Regions from separate parts of the Homo sapiens genome. Here region 1 is linked to region 2. Evidence: promoter capture Hi-C in 16 types of primary human blood cells and fetal thymus (Javierre and others, 2016). All regions are on one chromosome and are shown on one strand. Each heading gives the region's core, a stretch centred on a gene start or on the middle of the fragment in contact. The rest is flanking DNA. Distances are from core to core; before and after follow the strand shown. Region 1 holds the start of SNX19 (sorting nexin 19). Region 2 holds the start of EI24 (EI24 autophagy associated transmembrane protein).

Region 1 (7,314 bases), core at 1,590-4,089, 5.3 Mb before region 2:
CGATTCTCCTGCCTCAGCCCTCCGAGTAGCTGGGATTACAGGAGCACACCATCACACCTGGCTAATTTTTTTGTATTTTTAGTAAAGACGGGGTTTCACTATGTTAGCCATACTGGTCTTGAACTCCTGATCTCGTGATCTGCCTGCCTCAGCTTCCCAAAGTGCTAGGATTACAGGCATGAGCCACTGCGCCCAGCCCCCACTTCATCTTTTTACCTGACCTTCGATAGCTCCCTTTCTATATCCCACAGCAATAATTCCATACCATCGCCTCTTCTCACTCACTTGCCCCATCACTGAGCTTCTCTTTAGGAAGCCTCCTGGTCTTCTATTTTGAGAGAAAATTCAAGTGGGGTGCGGGCTGGCTCTGGCAGGGCCTATGTCACGGGCCCCCCTGCTCTCATGGTCTCTGCCTGTTTCTTATGAGCAGGCCTCTGCCTGAAAGACCTTCCTTCTGTTTGCCCCTTGCTCTCGCTACCCAACATTTCCTAAAATACACTCAATTCTTTTTCATTTCCCAACTTAAGGGAAAACTGTCTATGAGCCACCCCCCTCCACAGCTGACCACCCGCTTTGTGTTTCGATTTTATTGTATGCACTTCTATTACAACACATCAGAACACATCACATTACACACGTGATCATGTTTCATTACGTTTATATATTTATGTGTCTCTCCTTTAACTAGACTGAGAGTCCCTTGAGGAGAATTATTGTATCTTATTTGTCTTGTTTTCTCCAACACTCTAGCACTATGCCTTTAATGTTTTGAGAAATAGGGAAAAGGAAAGAAGGAAGGACGTCTCCAGATGGTGAGTGGTGTGGCCAAGTCTCCCCACCCCACATACACACACCAGGGCACATCAGTCCTGACTCTCACCTCCTCCCAGTGATTAATCTGTTTGGAGACCAGGGTCTGCCCAGACCCCCAGGCAGGAGCTCACACCCGTCCAAATGACAAGTGCACGGGCATGTCCATCAAACCCGCTTCAGAATCAGGAAGGCACTCTTGGCTACCTTGATGCTCCAGACCATCTGGTCAGGTGGCATAGCGCCCACTTGCAAGGTCACTTCCTTACTGCCCTGAACACTCCAGATTATGCTGCCAAGTAAACTTTCTCTTTGAACTGCCACAGGAAGTCTTCAGCACCGTCGGTAGTCCCTTCATCATTCACATTTCTGTTTTAGCTCCCAACTAGGTGGCAGGGACTTTTCTCCAGAGCATTGTTGCCATTTTCTAAGTGCTCCTGAGGACATTAGAATGGTCTGGGAAGGTAGAGGGGCAGAGCCCACTTCTCGGGTTCCTTTTCTGCGGGAAGGCAGGCAGCAGTGAAAAGGTATGGACCGTGAAACCGTGGATTCACATTCTGCCATCTCACGGGAGTGCCCAGTCTGCTTAGTGGACACTGATCCTAAATCAAACCATTTGCTTTAGAAGTGATGAATCGTAAACTACGGGTCACATCTAAATGATGGCTTCTTTCGTATTCAAAGGAAGTCTCTGCCCCAACAGCAGCAATGGACGAGACAGGAAGCTGCAACGCACTTCTTGTTGGCAGAGTTTTGGGTTGGGATTTGTTTGAAGATTCCTTTAAACATCTAGGGAGTAGTCCATGATGATGAAAGACTGCTCACAGCACAGAGAAGGTGGACGAAGGGCAACCATGAGCAGCTCTGTGCAAACGATGCGAATCCTATGCCTAAATGGAAAGGAGACCCACCCTGCGGGCACAGCTCCTAGGGCCCAAGGTGGACATGGAAGCTGGCTTCACGCAAAACTGACACTAACACTTTTGACACCTGGTCAGTGCTTCCGGTATTTTGTCTTCCTATAGGTTCCTGTGTAGACAAGTGAAGTCTAATTTGCTAAAACCAAAAACAATCCAACATAGAGCATATTCCAAAGCAAATATATTACAGGATTATCTGAAAGGACACCTCTATCTCTGCTTTCCTTTTCTATGTTTTTGGGGAGGATAAGGCGAGAAGAGATAGAGGGAAATAGAAACCCTCATCCTTGAAGACTCAGCAGAAAGGCACCTTTTCTGTGAGCTTCTCCTTAACCATTGCAACCCACAGTGATCTCTCCTTCCCCTGAATTCCTATAAGATTTTGTATTTTACTATATCGCACGCTGACTGGCATTACTAGATAGCCAATCGCGTTCAAAGCGCTGGCATCCCCAGTTAGCAGGAGGTCCTGGAGGACAAGGTCTGCTTCTATTCGTCCACGCTGCCTCTCACATTGAAGACAGCAGATGCTCAAAATATTTGATTGTTTGTGTAATGCCACCAGCAAATAACCCTCAATCACAAATTTGATTTTGTGATACAGTATATGAAATGTACAACATAAATCTATCTCTGTATCGTTTCATGCCTTATATTCTGCAATTCCTGACAACAAATGAGGGTCTTTGTGCTGGGGACGCGGGGTACCGGCTCTAGGGGAAACCGGATAAATGTTAAGACACATCAGGCCAATGAAACTTCGCCTCCATGAAATTAAAATAAACCGGATTATTGACAGCGTGCCTAAGCAGTAAAGGACAGGCTTCATTTAATAACCAGAACTAGGACGCGTTTTAAAGCGCCTGGAAGTCTGGGTCTTAGCGGTGATTGCTGCGGCGGCTGTTTCGTGGCACTTCGGAAATCTGCGCCAGCTCTTGGCGAGCACGCGCCCCGTGCGCGCTCAGGCTCACGCTCAGGCTCAGAGACTACCTCGCGCAGGGCCGTCAGGGCGGCTCCTCGCCAGCAGAGGGCGCCGGGCAGCGCCGCTCCTCGGGGCGCGCGCGGACGCTCTCCCAGCATGCCTCGCTCCCGTCGACGTCGACCCGGAAGCTGTCGCCGGCGGCCGGCCGGCGGTCAGCCTTCACACAGGCCCGGCTGCGGAGCGCAGTCGCCCAGGTTTACGGCGGCAGAGGGCCGAGGCTCCCGGAGAGGACCGCGATGAGTCCACTTCAGGTCGGGGCTGAGTGTGGGCGCGCGGTTCCCGGCGGCGTGTGACCCAGTCTTCGCCGGCCGCTGCCCGCTGCGTGTGTAAGTGTCCGTGGGCCCCAGGGCCTTGCAGCGCCCGCCCCGAGGCCCCGAAGAGGCCTTCCGCCTGGGGCAGTGTGAAGGCCACAGAGTTTTCCTCCAAAGCCACACCTCAGCTGGAAGGGGCGAGTTGGAGGGCTCTGTTAGTGGTAGCCATGGGGAGACGCGGAGCTGCAGCTGTCGCTTTGCAGTGCCTGTAGGACTTTGAGGGCCTGGAGCCCCGGTTCCCTGAACAGCACCCAGATCGCCCCATATCTGAGACACAGTTCATGCCCCCCTTCCCTAACTCTGAAGTAAAATCTTGAGGGCTGTCATCTGGGGAAGCCACCTTGTCCGTTCAGCCATGAAGACAGAAACAGTGCCACCGTTCCAGGAAACTCCAGCTGGATCGAGCTGTCACCTCAATAACCTGTTGAGTAGCCGGAAGCTGATGGCTGTGGGGGTCTTGCTTGGCTGGCTCCTGGTCATACACCTTCTGGTCAACGTGTGGCTGCTGTGCCTTCTGTCGGCATTGCTAGTGGTGCTGGGAGGATGGCTGGGCTCCAGCCTCGCTGGAGTGGCTTCAGGTCGACTGCATCTGGAACGCTTCATCCCGTTGGCCACCTGTCCTCCATGCCCTGAGGCAGAAAGGCAGCTGGAACGGGAGATCAACCGCACCATCCAGATGATTATTCGAGATTTTGTGTTATCTTGGTACCGTTCCGTGAGCCAGGAGCCAGCCTTTGAGGAAGAAATGGAGGCAGCCATGAAAGGGTTGGTCCAGGAGCTTCGGAGAAGGATGAGCGTGATGGACAGTCATGCTGTTGCCCAGAGTGTTCTGACTCTCTGCGGTTGTCACCTGCAGAGCTACATTCAGGCAAAGGAGGCCACTGCAGGGAAGAATGGTCCAGTTGAGCCTTCCCACCTCTGGGAGGCTTACTGCCGGGCGACTGCCCCACATCCTGCTGTGCACAGCCCCAGTGCTGAAGTCACCTATACGCGTGGCGTTGTGAATTTGTTGCTTCAAGGGCTGGTGCCCAAGCCCCACTTGGAGACTCGTACCGGACGCCATGTAGTGGTCGAACTCATCACATGCAATGTAATCTTACCACTGATCAGCAGGCTGTCAGATCCTGACTGGATCCACCTTGTACTCGTGGGTATCTTTTCCAAGGCCAGAGATCCAGCACCCTGCCCAGCCAGTGCCCCCGAACAGCCCTCAGTGCCGACATCTCTGCCACTGATTGCTGAGGTAGAGCAGCTTCCAGAAGGGAGAGCTTCTCCAGTAGCAGCCCCAGTATTCCTAAGTTACAGTGAGCCAGAGGGTTCTGCAGGCCCCTCTCCAGAGGTTGAAGAAGGCCACGAAGCTGTAGAGGGAGATTTGGGTGGGATGTGTGAAGAAAGAAAAGTAGGAAACAACTCATCTCATTTCCTACAGCCAAATGTTCGAGGTCCCCTGTTCTTATGTGAAGACTCAGAGCTGGAGTCTCCGCTGTCTGAACTGGGCAAAGAAACCATCATGCTCATGACTCCAGGCAGCTTTCTCTCTGACAGGATTCAGGATGCCCTGTGTGCCCTAGAGAGTTCCCAGGCTCTGGAACCCAAAGATGGTGAGGCATCTGAAGGAGCAGAGGCTGAGGAGGGTCCAGGGACAGAAACAGAGACAGGCCTGCCGGTCTCCACACTGAATTCCTGCCCAGAGATCCATATTGACACAGCAGACAAGGAGATAGAACAAGGAGATGTTACCGCCTCTGTTACAGCTTTGCTGGAGGGGCCAGAAAAGACCTGCCCCTCACGGCCGTCATGCTTAGAGAAGGATCTCACCAATGATGTGAGCTCCCTTGATCCTACTCTGCCACCAGTTCTGCTTTCCTCCTCTCCACCTGGTCCTCTCAGCTCAGCCACCTTCAGCTTTGAGCCCCTAAGCAGTCCCGATGGTCCAGTTATCATCCAGAACCTTCGTATCACTGGCACCATTACAGCCCGAGAGCACAGTGGCACTGGATTCCACCCATACACACTCTATACTGTGAAGGTAACAGGATTAAAGCTGTGGGTGCTCACCCGGGCTAGGAGTGGGTTTGGAAAGCAGTCATGAAGCAAATGTTCTTGGGGGAGAGATGCTGTTAGTTTGAAGTGGTTCTTTCAATAGGCATCTATCTCTGTGAATGGTCTGAAGCTAATATGTAAGGCAGAGTAGCGTTTATCCTGTACTCACACAAGCAATCCTGGAACCTCAGGGCTGCTAGAATGCTGAGGGTTATATTTTCAGTGGTTCCCAAACTTGGCTGCACCTCAAAATCACTTGAGCTGCCTTTCAGATATACAGATTCTGACAGACTCTGTTGGATTCTGTATGAGAATTTCTAAGGAGGGGGTCCCTGGATTCTGTATTTTATTTATTTTCAAATAGAACTCTCCAGATAACATAGAGTCAGCCTGTCCTAAGGCCATCTTGGGGAATTGCCTCTCTAATCCAACCAACCCTCTTCATGTTATCTCTTGTCAAGTTGTTCCCAAGTCTGCTTACACACCTCCAAGAGTCAAAAACTTGCTATCTTCTGAGATAGACATAGGTAAATAACCTACCTTCCTAAAACAAAGTACAAAATGTACCAGTATTTTGAAAAAGAAATCAGCAGGGAAGAAGTTGAGAAAGAAAATTCTTGGACAAGATCCTACCCATTGGATTTTACTTGCCTTCCACACTTGAATTTCTCTCATTTGAGTCCACAAGCTACCACCAGGGACAGCCTGCTTGCTACACTCCTCCGAACTCCCAATCCAACTAAGAGGGAAAAGACCTTCCTTGATCTGCTCAACACAGCTGCATCATGACATAGCATTTTAGAAAGTAACATTATGACATTTTCAAGTAAGACGGAATGGAAGTAATTAGAAATGCATATGGGTGAACACACAGACACACACTCATTATAGGCAAATTGTAGAAGTACAGATGTCTGGTCATAAAATAACTGAGACTAGCCTCAAAGGACTGGTATAACTTTGTTAACATTTTCCTGCCTTTTTGTTCTAATTCTGGATGCCCCTATGCCATGCACCTTTCTCACATTTAAGTGTTGGCTTCTGGTTATTTCATCTTTTTTTAATGACTATTCCAATACTGACATAAAACAGCAGGTTTTTTCCCTCCTCATTAGCAGAAAAATTAAGTTGATGGATAGAATGTTTAAGTTCCCAGTCTTTCTCCCATTATTTGTTCTTTTTTGTTGTTGGCTAGATTTTGACATCTGCTACTGCTTCAATTAAGCATTAGAAAAGAGTAAAGTAAAAAATGAGAACGAAATAATATAGCCAATTATGAGTAGTTTGAAATTGGGTTTAGATTTTTATATGGACATATAACTGATTTTAAATTGTATATCAATATTATTATACTTTCTGATAGTAAATAGTTTTCGGTTTATGTGATGGAAGTAACCATAACGGTGTTGAAAATTGGCCCTCGAGGAGCAGCATATTCCACAGAAAGCCTCATAGTTCCAAATGCTCCAGGCTTGAGAGCCCCACCCTGAATGCCACCTGTTGCTCTTACTTGGTCTTTCCTTCTCAGTGCTGTTCTGAGGGACTGCTTTGCTCACATCAGCTCATAATGAATACCCTGTCTCCAGAAAATTGTAAAGCACCAGCCACAACTCCCACCAACGAGGAGGTAGTTTTTTCCACCTCTTGCCCACAGTATACCTCAACCGAAAAATAATAGCCCATTCCTAATGAGAAGGCGCACATATATACTTCTCCCACAGCGTTTCATTGTGTCTTAACTACCCTGTCAAGAAGTGTGCCCCCATGCTGAGTTGCAGATTCCATGCCATCCGTGGTATTCACTCTTTGGGGAACATGAGATATAAGTCGTCTTTTCCACATACCAGCCCTCTAAGCTTAGGAAGACAGTGGACTTTGACCCCTTATCACATCTCCAATTTTCATGTGACTTCTGTGATACAGATGATACGTACTTAGGAAAAATTCAGTTTAGCTCTAAGAATAACAATTAGGAAAATTAATCTGCGTGAAACAAAACAAATACCCTTTAATTTATTCCAGATAAACAAATGATTTATATCTGCTGTTTGGATTACTTCTTCTTCCCTTAACTAATATAAATAATCACGGGAGAGTATAATGGAAAAATGGTTTGCCCCTTATGATGTTTAGCCCTGTAATTTAAAGGTGATAGAGGCAGTATCATTTTTATGGATGTTATGCCTTCTATTCAAATATTCATTTGAAAAACAGTTATGTAGCCATTTTTATAAGTCAAGAAAGTATC
Region 2 (7,041 bases), core at 4,183-6,682:
ATAGAAATGCTCAAGAAGCTTATAACTTAGTAGGAAAAGCACACAAGTAAACCAAAAAATTACATTAAAGGTTTTTTTTTAAAAAAGTTTTTAAATATGAAACATTTCATGAATTTGTGTGTCATGCACAGGAGCCATGGTAATCTCTGTATTGTTCCAATTTTAGTACATGTGCTGCAGAAGCAAGCACACATAGTTTAGTAAGTGCCACAACAGATGTATGGCCCAAGTAGAGTGTTAGCACTGGGGCATTCAACTTCATGAGAAGGCAGAAAAAATTATTCTGGAAGCAATGGCCAAGCTGGATTTAAGAATGGATAGCATTCTCGTCTACTGTTATCAGACAAAACGAATTTTAGAAATAATAGCTGGAATACAGAGAAATGGGCAAGTTGATGTATTATCTGTTAACAGGAACATAAATTGGCACAGTGTGCCTTTGATCTTTTTTTGTCTGAGTAATTTTTACTCTTAATTTTGCTTTTAACTCAGGAAACTCCAACTATCTAAGATAGTTAAGTTCAAATGGCTGAGGGCCTAGTACATGCTAGGATGATAGGATCCCCACCTCTAAGACATCTACAGTCCAGTGGGGCAGACAAACATGTAAATAGCACACTGTAGAACCAACACAGGGTTGAATTTTTTTTTTTTTTTAAACAGAGTCTTACTCTGTCGCCCAGGCTGGAGTGCAGTGGCATGATCTTGGCTCATTGCAACCTCTACCTCCCAGGTTCAAACGATTCTCCTGCCTCAGCCTCCTGAGTAGCTGGGATTATAGGCATGTGCACCACGCCTGGCTAAATCTTTTTTGTATTTTTAGTAGAGAGGGGGTTTTGCTGTGTTAGCCAGGCTGGGAGGGTTGAAATTTTACAGCACATGAATGGCAAGACAACAAGGTAAAGATGTTAAAAGTAGATCATATGCTGCTGGGCACGGTGGCTCATGCCTGTAATCCTAGCACTTTGGGAGGCTAAGGTGGGCAGATCACCTGAGGTCAGGAGTTCAAGACCAGCCTGGCCAACATGGTGAAACTCCGTCTCTACTAAAAATATAAAAATTAGCCAGGCGTGGTGGTGTGTGCTTGTAATCCCAGCTACCTGGGAGGTTGAGGCAGGAGAATCACTGGAACCCAAGAAGTGGAGGTTGCAGTGAGCCGAGATTGCACCACTGCCCTCCAGCCTGGGCGACACAGTGAGACTCTGTCAAAAAAAAAAAAAAAAAAAAAAGGAGATCATATGCATAAAGTCTTTTTAGACCTTCTAAGATACTCTTTCAATCCTCCCTCTTTTACTCAAAAGTAATAACCTTTTTACTTTCTTGCCCTGCTATAGTGCACTGGTACCATCATAGTTCACTACTGCTTCATACTCCCAGACTCAAGCAATCCTGCCTCCTTGGTCTCCCAAAGTGCTGAGATTACAGCTGTGAGCCACCTCCCCTGGCCATAAAGGTAACCTTTTAAACTCTTCCACTAAAGAAAGAACCTCCCCACTCCAAGAATTGGCCTCTTTCATGCTAGTGGAAATATAAGAGGGGGTTACAAGTGAGACATTATTAGGCTTCAGACATACATTAAAAGTAGCAGACTTTTGTGCTATTGGTAATTTGGATGACTGGGTCCTAACCAGATCTTTATAGGGCATTTTCCTAGAGTATCCTCCTCACGTGCACAGCTTGTAGAATGGGGAGAAAAAAGGTTCTGGCAGGTGCAGTGGCTCACTCCTATAATCCCGGCACTTTGGGAGGACAAGGCGGGTGGATCACTTGAGCCCAGGAGTTTGAGACCAGCCTGGGCAACATGCCAAAACTTCGTCTCTACTTTTAACAGAAAAATTTTTAAATAAATGAAAAATTGGGAAAAAAAAAAGATAGGTTCTCTAATTTAAATCTGAATTAATTAGTTTAGGTGATAGTACTGAACCAATGTTCATTTCTTAGTTGACAAATATACCACGGTTATATGTTAACATTAAGGGAAGCTGATGAAGGACATACAGGAACTCTCTGTACTACCTTATAACTTTTCTGTAAATCTAAACACATTCCAAAATAAAAAGTTAAAAAAAAAAAAAAAAAAAGCTCTGAAGCCAAGATGATTAGGGTCCCAATACTGGAGACATCCACCGAAGAGGTCTTCCAAGCACCTGCAAGACTGTCTGCAAGATGTAGAACAATACCTATTTCTTGAGTAGTGTGGTCTAGAATAACAACCTTTATGTAAAGAACCCAAGAAATATGATAAAAGTTCCAAAAACCCTAAAGGATTTCCTAGATGGTTCCTTCAGCAAAAAAAAAAAAGGCCGAGAGATGAATTCCTATAAACAAGATGTACTCACTCTGGCAAGGTCCTGGAGAAAGGTTTTGACACTGTCAGCCATCTCTTCACCACCAAACTATCAACTACACACAGGAGAGAGAAGTGTCCCCAAATCTCTCATCATGAAGGATCTGGAAACAGATGGAACATAATGGAGGCAAATATTTATTTTAAAGATAAGTTACTTCATGCACATTTCCACATGATGACCTCACATACTTGTAGCTCTAGTAAGATAGCAGTAGATTCTAGCACTAATAGAGTGAATCAAGTGAAGCTATTCCTGTACAGCTGAAACCTAAAATCCCTATTTTTTTTCTAAAACACTCACCACCCTTTCATTTTTACAAGGGGTTTTACATTTTACACCCTCTCATTTTTACATTTTACATTTTTACAATGTGCTCTTGACCAGTAACCTCCTCTGAGCCTCAATGCCCCTAACTATCCCTCCTACACATTCTAAGCACTTTTGAGGGTTTGGAGATGGAAGATAATTACATTTCAATATCTTCTTAAGCAATTTTTATGTTTGCTGGATACCTTCAAATACTTGAATGAAAATACAAGAGCAAGATAAAAGTTCTTACAAAAATTACTAAATACATGCTTCAGTCATACAGAGCCCTCGGGCACAGTAAAGTTTAAGGTATGACATGAAATTGCGTACCAAAACCTCCAAATAGGTCTTTTTTATTTTATTTTATTTTTTGAGACAGAGTCTCGCTCTTGTTGCCCAGGCTGGAGTGCAACACTGGGCTCGGCTCACTGCAACCTCCACCTCCCAGGTTCAAGTGATTCTCTTGCCTCAGCCTCCCGAGTAGCTGAGATTACAGGAACCCGCCACCACGCCCAGCTAATTTTGTGTATTTTTAGTAGAGATGGGGTTTCGCCATGTTGGCCAGGCTGATCTCAAACTCCTGATCTCAGGTGATCCATCCATCTCAGCCTCCCAAAGTGCTAGGATTACAGGCATGAGCCACCACGCCCGGCTGGTCTTTTCTGTTTTCTAACTTTAAATATATACAGATACAATTTTAATAAACATGCAATAAATAGTGGATTTTAAACTAGGCCTCAAAAAAGTTCATATGTATAAACAGTCTTTAAAACAGTAAGGCTTTCCCATTTTATTTCTCAGGTGAATGGGATATCTAGTTTCAAAAATTAAGAACTTGAGAGTTCATGTGAGAAATACTTGTAATTAATATACTATTCTCTCATTTAATCTGTGGTGACTTCTAAGATGAATAGAAAACCCACTTTCAGGCATTTTTTAAGAACCTGATATTCTAAAGTTCTCAACACTCACTCAATCAAGTTGCAGTATTCTCAGTTTAAGAGGTATGACCATAATACAAAGACAGAATTTCACAAGCAGCTTGTACAAACCTTAAATTTCAAAATATAAGCACACTTTCCCCGACCTTTAACCACTTCACCAAACTGCTCCTCATTGACCCAACTGGACTAATGCCATTCAGAACTGGAAGAGCAGGGGATATGGCAGTAGGAAGGCAATTTGCCCAACATTGTATATACCCTCTGCTCCTTAGGTCAAATCCTACACAGATAGGCTCACTTCGGATAGAAGTCTCTAGGGTAAGAAACTTCTGTTAATACTCCCACTGTTTCCTCCTGAAAACAAACACCTCAGAGTTCCAGTCGCGTAGGTACAGCCATACAGACATGTTCTCAGGGTTGAGGTGAGGGCAGCTGAGCTAGATAACTAGCAAAGGCTCAGTGATATGCACGACACTAGTTTGTAAAGACTCACAGATCCACTCCCGTAACCTGCCACTGGCTCATCTATAAATTAAGGGTACTAAACTTCTTCATAGGTTTCTTGCATCTAATAGGGCACAACAGCATGAAAAAAACTTAAAATTCTATATAAACACAACCCCACCAAAGTGAGCCAGCTTGGAGGTTTAAGGAAGCCCATTACTTGGCCTGGATTTCTCACAGGGAACTGACAGGGAACCTGAAACATTCTGTCTCAGTCCACAACAGCTGTGTCATTTGATCCCTGGCCAGCTAACACCTGGTTTCTGCATGTACCAAGTGGCAGGACACCTCCTAAGAGTGACCTATGAAGGATAAATCACTTCACTTTTATACTTAGATCCTAACATCCTTCCTACAGGAATATTTGGTGAATTACCCAGTCTGACAAATAGCTGAGGCATGGGGAAAAATAACCTGCCACAATTTGAGAACACACACACAGACTGAATGACACAGGGGGAATCCTACAGCTGAGCTAGACAGATGAAGATGCATCTGGCTCATTTAACAGGTGAGAGAACCCAGTCTCAGAAGTTAAATGACTTGCCCAGACTGACAGCAAATGAATGGCAGCTACAGTGAACCTCAGAACCCGGTGTTCTAACGTTACCTCGGTCGAGACTTGTTTTTACTTAAGCTTTGCAATGAAGATTTTTGTTTTAACACGAGCATCCCATGGACAAATAACCTCTCAAACCTGGAAATACAAATGCCATTAAATTCCCAACAGTCATTAGAAGCTAATAAGCATCTGCTGAGACACACTTTTATTTCTAAGTCACTAAACCCAAGTCTCGGCAAACAGGAAGCTGTCGTAGCCCACTCCAGGTACAGGGAAGGTAAACATCCTCACTTCCCACGGGGCTCCACGGGCTGCCTCTGAGTCCACGGGTCCATTCAGGCCCATCTCCCCACAGCTCCTAGGCAATTCGGCAGAAAACTGGTCTCCCTAGGCACAACTGTGCACGAGGTACGGATCACGCGAGGTGCGGATCACGCACGCTCCGGGTCACACAGGGAGCTAAAGATAGCTGCGCCGCACCTGGGGCAGCCTCGCCCGGGGATGTGCCCGGCCCCGTCCCGCTCCCTCCGGCCCCTTCCCATAAGGGGTCCTCGCCGGTAGCCCCACCAACCCACGCTCGGGCCCTGCCTGCCCTCCCGGTCCCTGCCACTCAGAATGGGCGGCGCGGCGGCCCCGAGGCCTAGCTCGGCTGAGCCCGCACCTACCCACAGCTCCGCCGCCGCGGCTCCGGCCCTGCCCCTAGCCCACCGCAGGCCAGCTCCGCCGGGGCGCTTCCAGGGCCGGGGCCGCTGCGCCCGCACTGGGCATGCCCGGGCCGCACGGGGCCGCTGGGAAGTCGGGCGAGCGCGAAGAACCAGCCGGCACCACGAGGCGGGGCCCAGAGCCGAAGGGGTGGGCCGCGCGGAGCGACGGAGACTGGGAAATGTAGTCAGTCCGGGGTCCCGCCTCGCGCTGCGTGCGGGATCGTCCGGCTCCCAACTCCGCCTGGCGGCGGAGAGGACCCCTCACCCCTCCGCGTCGCCTCCTCCCCGTCGCCTCCTCGCCGATCCCGTTCTCACAGATCTCTCCTCCTGTTCTTTGCCCTCCCCCATTGACTCCACAACGCTGCTTGCGTTTCTAAAATCCTGTGAAATTAGTAACAGGATGCCTTTAATCCCAGCATTTTGGGAGGCCAAGGCAGGCAGATCACGAGGTCAGGAGTTCAAGACCAGCCTGGCCAACATAGCGAAACCCCATCTCTACTAAAATAACAAAAATTAGCCAGGTGTGGTGGTACCTGCCTGTGGTCCCAGCTACTCAGGAGGCTGAGGCAGGAGAATTACTTGAACTCAGGGGATGAAGGTTGCAGTGAGCCGAGATCACACCACTGCACTCCTGCCTGGGCGACTGAGCAAGACTCAGTCTCAAAATAATAATAATAATAATAAATTTAAAAAATGAAATAAAATAAGTGGCTGGGCACGGTGGCTCATGCGTGTAACCTCAGCACTTTGGGAAGCTGAGGCGGGCAGATCACTTGAGGCCACCCTGGCCAAGATGGTGAAATCCCGTCTCTACTAAAAATACAAAAAATTAGCTGGGCATGGTGGCACACACCTGTGGTCCCAGCTACTTGGTCGGCTAAGGAATGAGAATCACTTCAATTCAGGAGGCAGAGGTTGCGGTGAGCCGAGATCGCACTACTGCACTTCAGCCTGGGTGACACAGCTAGACTGTCTCGAAAAATAAAATAAAATAAAACAAAACAAAACAATATAAAATAGAATAGAATAAGGAATCCATCTACTAAAGCTTAGAAATCTTGTTACAAAGAGACCTAAGTGGTTTAATGACAAACTGATTATTGTGCTATTAATTATAATAATAGCTCTTCCTCCAAGCTCTATTCTTTCTCAAGAGTGTCAATTTAGAAAAGATTTTAGAAAGAATTTAGTAGGTATGAGTTTATTCTGGCTTACTTCATGGGAGGAAATCTTTTTTTTTTTTTTTTTTTGAGACTGAGTCTGTCTTTGTCTCCCAGGCTGGAGTGCAGTGGTGCGATCTCGGCTCACTGCAAGCTCCGCCCCCTGGGTTCACGCCATTCTCCTGCCTCAGCCTCCTGAGTAGCTGGGACTACAGGCACCTGCCACCAAGCATGGCTAATTTTTTTGTATTTTTAGTAGAGACGGGGTTTCACCGTGTTAGCCAGGATGGTCTCGATCTCCTGACCTCGTGGTCCGCCCACCTACAGCCTCCCAAAGTGCTGGGATTACAGGCGTGAGCCACTGCGCCTGGCCGGGAGGAAATCTTTTAAATCTCAACATGTATAACCACATTTAAAATAAAAACCAATAATAATTAATACCTTGCATTTTTAAAGAGCTCTCACATGCTTATGTATGATTAGATGCTATTTGTGGACAAGTAGAGG

The links. The method cuts DNA at HindIII sites, captures the fragments that hold promoters and counts their contacts. A CHiCAGO score of 5 or more calls a contact.
Region 1: a contact is called between the fragment with the promoter of SNX19 here and the fragment with the promoter of EI24 in region 2, in 1 of 17 cell types (total CD4 T cells). The highest score is 5.3, in total CD4 T cells.

Annotation. Positions count from the first base shown.
Region 1 is chr11:130,912,004-130,919,317 of GRCh38, reverse strand. SNX19 (sorting nexin 19) reads left to right here and starts at 2,839. Exons shown (of 11, transcript NM_014758.3): 1 at 2,839-5,052. The coding sequence starts at 3,379. RefSeq lists a silencer at 2,647-2,926 and an enhancer at 3,047-3,096. The HindIII fragment of the contact is 12,734 bases long and covers 1-6,924 here.
Region 2 is chr11:125,567,868-125,574,908 of GRCh38, reverse strand. EI24 (EI24 autophagy associated transmembrane protein) reads right to left here and starts at 5,432. Exons shown (of 11, transcript NM_004879.5): 1 at 5,336-5,432; 2 at 2,340-2,451. The coding sequence starts at 2,381. It overlaps STT3A-AS1 (STT3A antisense RNA 1), which reads left to right. Exons shown (of 4, transcript NR_132372.1): 2 at 1,335-1,453; 3 at 4,467-4,619; 4 at 6,791-6,801. It also overlaps the pseudogene RNU6-1156P. RefSeq lists enhancers at 4,715-4,764, 5,267-5,768 and a silencer at 5,205-5,764. The HindIII fragment of the contact is 1,677 bases long and covers 4,748-6,424 here.